Regions from separate parts of the Homo sapiens genome. Here region 2 is linked to region 1. The links are contacts of gene promoters, found by promoter capture Hi-C in blood cells and fetal thymus (Javierre and others, 2016). All regions are on one chromosome and are shown on one strand. Each heading gives the region's core, a stretch centred on a gene start or on the middle of the fragment in contact. The rest is flanking DNA. Distances are from core to core; before and after follow the strand shown.

The links. Contacts are between HindIII fragments. The CHiCAGO score rates a contact against its expected background, and 5 or more counts as called.
Region 2: the fragment with the promoter of ATL3 here is called in contact with the fragment with the promoter of PLAAT2 in region 1 in 3 of 17 cell types (naive B cells, total B cells and monocytes); the score reaches 7.7 in naive B cells.

The regions. Positions count from the first base shown.
Region 1 is chr11:63,561,123-63,566,341 of GRCh38, forward strand. It overlaps PLAAT2 (phospholipase A and acyltransferase 2), which reads right to left and starts at 2,257. Exons shown (of 4, transcript NM_017878.2): 1 at 2,194-2,257. The coding sequence starts at 2,202. RefSeq lists a silencer at 3,214-3,293. The HindIII fragment of the contact is 3,539 bases long and covers 2,166-5,219 here.
Region 2 is chr11:63,670,071-63,675,689 of GRCh38, forward strand. ATL3 (atlastin GTPase 3) reads right to left here and starts at 1,306. Exons shown (of 13, transcript NM_015459.5): 1 at 1,220-1,306. The coding sequence starts at 1,265. RefSeq lists enhancers at 671-1,172, 1,173-1,672, 1,713-1,822 and silencers at 833-1,092, 1,123-1,182, 1,503-1,622. The HindIII fragment of the contact is 2,416 bases long and covers 692-3,107 here.

The DNA of each region.
Region 1 (5,219 bases), core at 1,007-3,506:
AAAGTCTGGTGGGGAGCTATAGTTAAAAGTAAAGCCTTTCATTTGAAGTAATTTGGATGGAATTGGAGATCATTATTCTAAGTGAAATAACTCAGTAATGGAAAATCAAACATCCTATGTTCTCACTCGTAAGTGGGAGCTAAGCTATGAGGACGCAAAGGCATAAGAATCATACAACGGACTCTGAAGACTGAGGGAAAAGGGTGGGAGTGGGTGAGGAATAAACGACTACACACTGGGGCTGGGTGTGGTGGCTCACGCCTATAATCCCAGCATTTCAGGAGGCCGAGATGGGTGGATTGCCTGAGGTCAGAAGTTTGAGACCAGCCTGGCCAACATGGTGAAACCCCCATCTCTACTAAAAATACTAAAATTAGCTGGGTATAGTGGCAGGTGCCTGTAATCCCACCCACTTGGGAGGCTGAGGCATGAGAATTGCTTGAACCCGGGAGGCAGGGGTTGCAGTGAGCAGAGATCGTGCCACTGCACTCCAGCCTGGGCGATAGAGTGAGACTCCATCACAAAAAAAAAAAAAAAAAAAAAAAAAAAGACTACGCATTGGGTACCGAGTACACTGCTGAGATGATAGGTACACCAAAATCTCAGACATCACCACTAAAAACTAATTTATGTAACCAAATACCACATGTTCCCCCCCAGAACCTCGAAATTTAAAAAAAAGTAAAGCCTTTGACTAGAGGGGTCAAGAGTCAACTTGACCAAATAAGGGACAATTTGAGCATCAAAAAAAAATAATAAAAATAACTGTACACAAACTGAAACACATCAAATATGTTAAAACCCACGTGTTCATAAGGATATTTTTTAAAAACACTAGGCATCTTTGGAGGATGGAAAAGAATCACCCTATTATTCCAAAAGCTGGTAAATAAAGGAAAAGATTCAAGCATTTCCTAACTGAATTGTCCTCACGGAATGCAATTTAAAACTACAACAAACCCCAAAGCTACAAACCAATACTTGTAAGGTAGCCATATATGTATGCAAAAACAGAAAAATATTTGGAAGAATACGCACCAGGTTGTACAGAGGGGAAAGGCTGTACAGATGGGAAGGATGGTCAAAGGGGACATTAGTTTTTATGCTAATAGTTTTGGTTTTTGGCTTTTGGCTTTTTTTGAGACATGATCTCATTTTGTCACCCAGGCTGGAGTGCAGTGGCACTATCACAGCTCACTGCAGGAAGCCTCAGCCTCCCCAGCTCAAGTGATCCTCCCACCTCAGCCTCCCAAGAAGCTAGGACTATAAGCACATACCATTATCCTTGGCTAATTTTAATATTTTTTGTAGGGATGGGATCTCACTATGTTGCCCAGGCTAGAGTTTCGGTTTTTCAGACAAAGTGAATGTGTTCACGTATTTCTCCTGGAATTAAATACATTCTTTCTTTTTTAAGTCGAAGCTTTAGAGTCAGAGCCTCCTAAGTTCGAATTCCCTCTCTGACTTTTGGGCAGCCCCCTCTCTATACTTACCAGTATATCATTCCTCCTATCCATGAAGTTGGCAGTAATTATGCCTACTTCATAGGATTGCTTATTAACTACCTGGTGTGGATTAAATAAAAGAAGTGTTTAGCATGGTGTCTGGACCCCTGAGCACTTGGGAAATGTGGCTGCTATTGGGTCTAAAGGAAGAAGGAAACTAAGAAGGAATTGGAGGGAAGGAGGGAAAGTAGAGGGACTGGCCCTGCCTGGAGGCGAGGGAGACAGAGCCCTTTCTGACAGCCCCCATTGCCACCCACACAGCTGGAGCCCTTTCCCTGGACCCTCCCTCCCCAGCTAATCCCTCCCACTGAGGATGATGTGACAGAGGAGGCGGCCTGTGGGGTAAACCAAGGGCTGCTCTCCCTGAGCCCACCATTCCTGCCTTCAGGAGGCTTAGCAGAGCCACTGGTAGTTTGGCCAGAGGAGGGCTTGGAAAAGCATAAACGCAAACTTTGGCCACAGTAGAACCAGACCCCATGCGGCAGCTGAGGCTGGGGAGCCTCCAGGGTCATAACCCAGCACCGTGGTTCCTTCCCACAGTGTCTGAGAGAGCCAGACCCCCAGAACTCAGCATGTGCCCATGTGCCCTCCATGCCAGAGCTGTAGACCAACAAGAATACACATAATCATCACTAATAGGGTGGTTGTTCCTCAAATCAAAGCTTTAAAACCGTTTCTGGGGACTTACCAAAGCCATCCTTCCTTCAAGATGATGTCTTGTGTGTTGCTGACTCTGTGTCCAGCCTTAAATTAGCTCTGAGTTTCACTTTCCCTGTGACCCAGCCCATATACAACTATTTCAGAACATAGGCTGGGTGCGGTGGCTCACACCTGTAATCCCAGCACTTTGAGAGGCTGAGGCGGGAGGATCACAAGGTCAGGAGATCGAGACCATCCTGACTAACACGGTGAAACCCCGTCTCTCCTAAAAAATAGAAAAAATTAGCTGGGCATGGTGGTGGGCACCTGTAGTCCCAGCTACTCCAGAGGCCGAGGCAGGAAATGGCGTCAACCCAGTAGGCAGACCTTGCAGCGAGCAGAGGTCGTGCCACTGCACTCTAGCCTGGGCGGCAGGGCGAGACTCAGTCAAAAAAAAAAAAAAAAAAAAAACAGAACATAGATCAAGGTTCATGTAAAATTTTCCCTGTCTTCAAACAGGGGCAGAGCACATATCAAGTAGGCAAGGCGGCATGAAAATCAGCCAGACAGAAGAGGAATCAGAGCTCAGGATATAGATTGAGAAGGACTTAGTGGCAGTGTGGTCAGGGGCACAGCTGACAATCACCAAGTTTCAGGTGGAACAAGCAAGATCCAGTGGTTGTGGGGGCAAGGGAGGATATAGAGACAGAGACCATGGGGGAAAATTTCAAAAAGGAGAGAGGAGCCCCAGAGAGACTGAGATTCATGCCTCCAAATTGGGAATGATGGTTGCCGGGACAGGCAAACATTTCCACCAACCTCAAACCCCATGGCCCTAGAAAAATCGTATTATTGGAGGCACATTCCTCTACCCTGGAAACAGAGTGAGCCTGCTTGGACAGCAGTATAGAAACCACTCCCCTTTCTGCCTCTCACCCACAGTTCAGAAACACTCATTCCACACCAAATGGAAACCAAAACCCAGTACTGGGTGTGTAGAGGTTGCTTCTTTGAGGCACCTGCATGCTTATCTCACCCAAGCTCCAAATAAGTATCTCTTCTGTCATCTACATATAGTTGTCCGGTCCTGAGCAAACTGGACAGGAAGGGGTGGGTGGGGCTGGGGGGAGCTGAGCATCCTCACTGTGGGGCATGGGGGCGAGGACCAATAACTTACCCTCTTCAGGCTATAAACAAACAAACAAACAAAGAGCTTTAGTGTGGGGATGCAGATGGACTGGAGCCAGAACTGGAAAACTCTTTGGGAGCCACAGCAGTTCTGCATGACCAGCTACTCCCTCAGCTCACGTGGTCATGTGGTCTTGCTCCCATGGAGACGGCCTCTCTCAGCACCTCCACTCCATTCTCCTCTGAGTTGCAGTGGGACAATCTTCAAAGTATTCCTTCTGGAGGGAGACAGTAGGGTTGGCTTGGCTAATTATCTCCTGCCCCATTGTCCAGAGACCTCTGGGCCGGTCCCACTCAGGCTTGCTGATCATCTTTTTAGGGGCTGACCTCCAGTCCAGCAATCTCAGTTCTTCCTATGCCTGCCCTCCCCTTGCAACCACATCACACCCCTGTTTCCTGGGGCAGGAGGACTTCCACGTGCTGTCTGCTGAAAGGATCTCAGGTGGGTTGGCACAATGACCAACCAGACCATGCAGGGCGGAGTTGGGGAGGAACATCACTGTACTCATGCTGGGGCTTGTGGCTTTTCACCGAATCCAAGCTGTTCAGAGTGTCAGGAAATTATGTCCAGGAGCTATAGGAAAGGAGAGTCTGCAAATCAAGGGCCAGTGGAATGAGAATTCTGCTGTCTCCCTACTGTTCATGCTGAGCAGGAAAGGTGACAAAGTTCTACTGACAGAGAACAGGGTAGGGCAGGCCACACCCAGCCTGCTGGTAAGCTCTAGGCCTACAGCCTGGAATACTTACATTTTTGTTCACATGCACGCTCTCTATGTTTGTTTAATTGTATAAAAGGCTATAAAAGGAAAGATAAGCCTCCATTCTCCCCACCTCCAGCCTCCAGCCTCCAGCAACCCAGTTCCCCTTTCTAGAGGCAATGTTATCTTTCTATGTACATGCCAGGAATATCTTGGGCTACATATAATTTTAATGGGCTTTGGCCGGGCACAGTGGCTGATGCCTGTAATCCCAGCACTTTTGGAGGCCAAGGTGGGTGAATCACTTGGGTCAGAAGTTCGAGACCAGCCTAGCCAACATGGCAAAACCCCGTCTCTACTAAAAATACAAAAATTAGCTGGGCTTGGTGGCGCACGCCTGTAGTCCAGCTGCTCGGGAAGCTGAGGCAGGAGAATCTATTGAACCTGGGATGCAGAGGTTGCAGTGAGCCAAGATCACGCCACTGCCCTCCAGCCTGGGTTACAGAGTGAGACTATGTCTCAGAAATAAATAAATAAATAAATAAAGGATTTTATTAAATCTTATATCCATATAGAAGAATAATTGCAACATAAGTATAAAACACTAGAAATAATAACAAAACAGGTACCAATAAACCTAGTTGAAGAAATAGAAAATAACCAATTTCTTAAATAAGCCCTGTGTCCCACAAAAACCTGTCCACAGATGTTCATAGCAGCCGTGGTGGTTAATTTGTTGTGTCAATCCGACAGGGCCATGGGGTGCCCAGATGCTGTGTGATGTCTGGGCATGTCTGTTGAGGTGCTTCCAGATGAGATCAGCATTTGAATTGGTGGAATGGGTGAAGCAGATGACCCTCCCTTATGTGAGTGGGGAGCATCAATCTGTTGAGGGCTTGATTAGAACAAAGCTAGAGGAATGAGAAATTCGTCCCCTTTTCGTCTGCCTCACTACTTGTGTTGAGATAGCTCACCTCATCTTCTGCCCTCATACTGGGATTTACTCTATCGGCTCCCTGGATTCCCAGGTCTTTTGACGCAGACGGAATGATACCACTGCCTTTCCTGAGTCTCCAGGGTCTCTAGCCTGCAAACAGCAGATGGTGGGACTTCTCAGCCTCTGTGATTGCTGCAGCAGCTAATTTTTTGTAAGAAATCTTGATGGGGCCGGGCATGGTGGCTCACGCCT
Region 2 (5,619 bases), core at 56-2,555, 110 kb after region 1:
ACTCCAGCCTGGGTGACCAGAGCAAAACTCCGTCTCAAAAAATAATAATAAAACAATGTGCTGGACTACTGCAATACTGAGATCCTTCTCAGCCAAGTGTTTACAGGTGTTAGAGCGGCAACAGGAATTTCTGGAGTACAAGCTAATCTCTGTGGGAATGGAAAAAAAAAAGCACTAATTTGAATTTCAGTACCTATGTTGCAATGCTAAATTCTTGACAGGGATTAGTACTCCGTAGGTTATGCTTCTTAAATCTCCAAAAGTAAGCCAATATGTGAAATCGTACATTTTTGGTCCGTTATTCTAAGACTGACAAAACGTTCCATTGCTTCGTATTTGAATTTGAGAACTGAGACTCATTTAAAAATTCTTCACTGTTCTTTTCCTTTTTGCTCTTCGATTTCGCAAGTGAAACGGTCATTTCAACAGCACACACATTACACTAGAATAAAGCCAAGTAAAATGACAGACTAAATCAGATCCGTGAATACACGGTGACTCCTTATTTGGTTTTTAATACTTTCACTATGTTTCATGTCTTCGGGAAAGCAAAAGAACAACGTACTGTGCCAAAAGCACTAACTTACGAAAAACCAATTTAGACCAATTCTTTACAGCGTTAAGTATGGGTTGAAAACCAACTTTCCTAATACTTGTGGTCAGTGCCTCAAGGTCGTTAGGATAAAAATAAAGCTTCCAAGACACTTCGCAGCCTTCCAGCACTTCCAGAAAGGCCAAATAAACCAGCATTCACCTTCCCGCTCCATCCAGGCCCCGATTCTCCGACCAGAGAGGGCGCTGAGTGCCCGGGCACGGAGGGGCAGCGCCCTGGGGCGCCCGGCTCTGCCCAGGGCGGGGCTCGGCGGGGCCGAAGCTCCGGACGCCGCCCACGGGGACCACCGGCCCTTGGGCCGCCCAGGGGCAGCTGCAGCCCAGGGGAGGAGCTGGAGGAGCCCCCGGCGGCACCAGGGCCCGAGCCCTGACGGCGGCCGCCCCCGGCCGAAAAGTAAGGAAGGTGCCGCCCTCGCTGGACCAGCTGGGCCCGAAGAGGGGCCCCCCCACCACAAATTCGGAAACCGAGTGACCCCGGCGAGGGACGCGCGGTCCCAGCCCCGGGACGAGGAAGGGCGGCGGCGCGGGCGGGGGTTCTTTTCAGAACTACAGCAGGGAAGGCGGCGGGGGTGGCCGCGGGGCGATCCAGGGAAAATCGGCGCCTCACCTGCTCCTCTTGAGGCAGCTGCTGCCACTCGCTGAGGGGACAACATGGAGCCTCCGCCTTCAAAGCAGAAGCAGCAGGGGTGCAGAGGAGAGGGACGGGTGCGGGCGGGAACGAACCGGGCCCTGGAAGCGGGAAACGGGCGGAGCCTGGGCTCTAGAAAAAACTAGCCAGAAGGTGGGGCACGCGGAGCCGCGACGGAGCGAGCGCAGCGCGGTCTGCGTGGCCCAACGGACAGCCCGAGGCGTGGCGAGCGCAGGACGAGGCTAGGCGAGGCGGGGCGGGAAAGCGCACGCGGCAGAATCCCGCCACCGCCTGCCGCGTGTGCGCGAAGCGAGCCGCCGGGTACCTGTTGGCGGGGCGCTGAGTGCTACCGTCCTTTGGGAATTGTAGTCCCGCGCTCACTGGGTCCCGGCCAGCGGTCCTCATACTGCGCACTCATCTGGGGCGGGGCTTGGCGTGGTTCTCCGACGACTGAACTACAACTCCCAGCAGGCTGTGCGGGAAGGGGCGGGCTGGCTCGGGTCCTCCTGCGAGCTGCGGCCGGCGCCTAACGTGCAGACCAGGCCCCAGGCCGAGGCTTTATCCTGGAACCACCAGTGTGAGAGACAGCTTTGGTGTTTAACTAGGCCTGGGACCACAGGTGGGCAGAAGAGAGGCCTCAACCCTGGATGGCATGAACGTCACTGGGTCTTTAATGATTTTGACTTCATAAGGGCAGGTGGCCGTGACTTCATTACCACCTTTATTATCATCTCCCTATATTCCTGTCCCTGGCCATGGCTGATGCGCACCATCACCGCTCTGATAGCTAATGTAAGAAGTCCAGGCCGGGCGCCGTGCCTCACGCCTGTAATCCCAGCACTTTGGGAGGCCGAGGCGGGTGGATCACCTGAGGTCGTGGGCGTTCGAGACCAGCCTGACCAACATGGAGAATCCCCGTCTCTACTAAAAATACGAAATTAGCCAGGCGTAGTGGCGCACGCTTGTAATCCCAGCTAGTCCAGAGGCTGAACAGGAGAATCGCTTGAACCCAGGAGGCGGAGGTTGCAGTGAGCCGAGATCGCACCATTGCACACCAGCGTAGGCAACAGGAGCAAAACTCCATCAAAAAAAAAAAAAAAAAACTTGCACGCACATCCCAGCATTCTCTGCTCCTTTTCCCTGCATTACTTTTCTCCAAAAGACTTCATACCACTTGGCCAGGCGCGGTGGCTCACGCCTGTAATCCCAGCACTTTGGGAGGCTGAGGTGGTTGGATCACCTGAGGTCGGGAGTTCAAGACCAGCCAGGCTAACATGGTGAAACCCCATCTCTTCTAAAAATACAAAAAATTAACCAGGCGTGGTGGCAGGCGCCTGTAATCCCAGCTACTCGGGAGGCTGAGGCAGGAGAGGTTGCATTGAGTGGAGATGGCACCACTGCACTCCAGCCTGGGAGAAAGAGCAAGACTCCATCTCAAAAAAAAAAAAAAAAAAAAAGACTTCCTGCTACTATCTGACTTATGTTTTACCTTTCATTGTGTTTGTCTCTTCCCACTGAATGTAAGTTCCAAACAGATAGGAATTTTTGTCTGTTTTGTTTACTTGTATATCCCCAGTCCCTAAATACTGCTGGCAGATAATAGAGACTCAAATATCTATTGAATTAATGGATGAAGAAGATATATGTTACATCTAACACTGCTCACTCACTTTCTGGTTCCTTTAATATTAAATACCTAACTTTTACTATTGAACAAAATACCCTAGTTTATTTTAAGGGCTCCCCAGAGATTCACTGAAATCCAACTTCTCAGGAAGTGACCAGCAAATACTGATATATGTCTCAATATTACATCATCAAGGTATCAAGGTCAATGTTAGCACATCAGCATTGTAGCCCTTGTAGAAGCTTTTGGCATTTGGAACAAAACAGTACAAATTATAGGTGGACTTAAGGATTAGTCACAACTTAGAAAGCAACCCCTGTAAATGAGAAACATGTTTTGTGTTATTTCCTTCTCAAATATCCAGGGTCATCAAAACACTGGACATTGAAAGTGCCAAATATTGACAATACTGGTTACAGCCTGCCTTCAGCTATCTCACTCTGAATTGAGTTATGTGCTATGATCAGAGGTTGAGCTTCCCTTGAGGTTTTCCAGAAGTAGGTGACATGTAGACATATTTGAGTGGACAGACTACTGGCTTTGGGGTCAGACTTACCTGGCTCTGATGTTCACTAGCTATGCAACCTTGGGCGAGCTACTTAACCTCTCTGAATCCATTTCATCATCTGCAAAATGATTTAAAGACCCACACGGTTGTTCTAGGCTAAGTGAGCTGTGTGTTTGGAAATGATGACTGCGTGGTTAGTGATCAAAATTAGTAATCAGCATATTCATTCTGGAAAAGCAAAATAAAGTCATAAATATTCAAGATACTCAAGTGGTTTATGAAACACAAAAATAGCAAAATTGTTTTCTGCAATGGCATCCACCATGACTCAGGTTCCAAAGCTTTCCAAAAATAGGTCATTTGTTATATGCCAGGTACCGTGATAGGCCATAATGCTGCATAAGACACATTCCTATCCTCCAGAGACTCGCAGTCCTGTGGGATAGACAGCTGAGGAAATATCATTCACTGTGACTGTACTGGGACACAGTTCAGCTTTCTGCCCTCTATGTGCAGGATCATTATTTAAGCAACTTGGAAGGGACAAGTTGGAATACTACATCCCTGGGCATCATTTAAATTTCCATACCTTATTTTGCATGTGTGTAAAATGGGGTAATGATTTGGCATCTTCATTTGTAAAAAGAAAATAGCCAACCCCACTTGATAGGGTCTTATAAAGTTGAATATTAGGTCCTCAACATGGTAACATACTGAAAGCTTAAGACCTTGTCAGCTACTTCATTATTGGTATTTCAGCCAACAGCACAGCGGTCTAACTGGGAGGATCTCTTGAGCCCAGGAGTTCAAGACCAGTCTGGGGGCTGGGGGCAGTGGCTCACACCTGTAATCCCTACACTTTGGGAGGCCGAGGCAGGTGGATCACCTGAGGTCAGGAGTTGGAGACCAGCCTGGCCAACATGGTGAAATCCCGTCTGTACTAAAAATACAAAAACTTAGCCAAGAGTGGTGGCAGGCACCTGTAATCCCAGCTACTCCAGAGGCTGAGGCAGGAGAATCTCTTGAACCCGGGAGGCAGTGGTTGCAGCGAGCTGAGATCCTGCCATTGCATCCAGCCTGGGCAATAAGAGCAAAATTCTGTCACAAACAAACAAACAAACAAAACGGTCTGGGCAACATAGGGAGATCCCATGTCTACCAAAAATAAACAAATAAATTAGCCAGGTATGGTGGGGTACCTGTGGTCCCAGCTACTTGGGAGGCTGAGGTGGGAGGATTGCTTGAGCCTAGGAGGTAGAGGATGCAGTGAGCCATAATTGTAGCACTGCATTACAGCCTGAGCAACAGAGCAAACCCTACCTCCAAAAAAAGAAAGAAAGAAAGAAAGAAAGTGGGGGCGGGGGACAGCGCACAGTGGCTCATGCCTGTAATCCCAGCACTTTGGGAGTCTGAAGCATATGGATCACTTAAGGTCACAAGTTCAAGACCAGCCTGGCCAACACAGTGAAACACTGTCTCTACTAAAAATACAAAAATTAGCCAGGCATGGTGGTGTATGCTTGTAATCCCAGCAACCTGGGAGGCCGAGGCAGGAGTATGGCTTGAACCCAGGAGGCAGAGGTTGCAGTGAGCCAAGATCATGCCACCACTGCATTCCAGCCTGGGTGACAGAGCGACTCCACTAAAAAAAAAAAAAAAAAGGCAGTGGGGATGAGGATACAGATTTGCTATATTCACCTTTGCTTATGTTTGCCACAGGAATATCCTAATAGTGGCCAGGCTCGGTGGCTCACGCCTGTAATCCCAGCATTTTGGGAGGCCGAGGCAGGCAGATCACGAGGTCAGGAGATCGAGACCATCCTGGCTAACACGGTGAAACCCCGTCTCTACTAAAAATACAAAAAATTAGCTGGGCGTGGTGGCGGGTGCCTGTAGTCCCAGCTACTTGGGAGGCTGAGGCAGGAGAATGGCGTGAACCCAGGAGGCAGAGCTTGCAGTGAGCTGAGATCGCAGCATTGCACTCCAGCCTGGGCGACACAGCAAGACTCCATTTCAAAAAAAAAAAAAAGAGAAAATCCTAATAGTAGCTACCTATATGTGTGTAGAGGAGTGGAGGGAGTTAGTGATAAAACTTTACAATATATATATTCCTGAATATTTGTGTACGTATATATGAATGATCTGTGACTACATATCAAATTTTTTTTTGAGATAGAGTTTCACTCTGTCGCCCAGGCTGGAGTGCAGTGGCGCAATCTTGGCTCACTGCAACTTTTGCTTCCC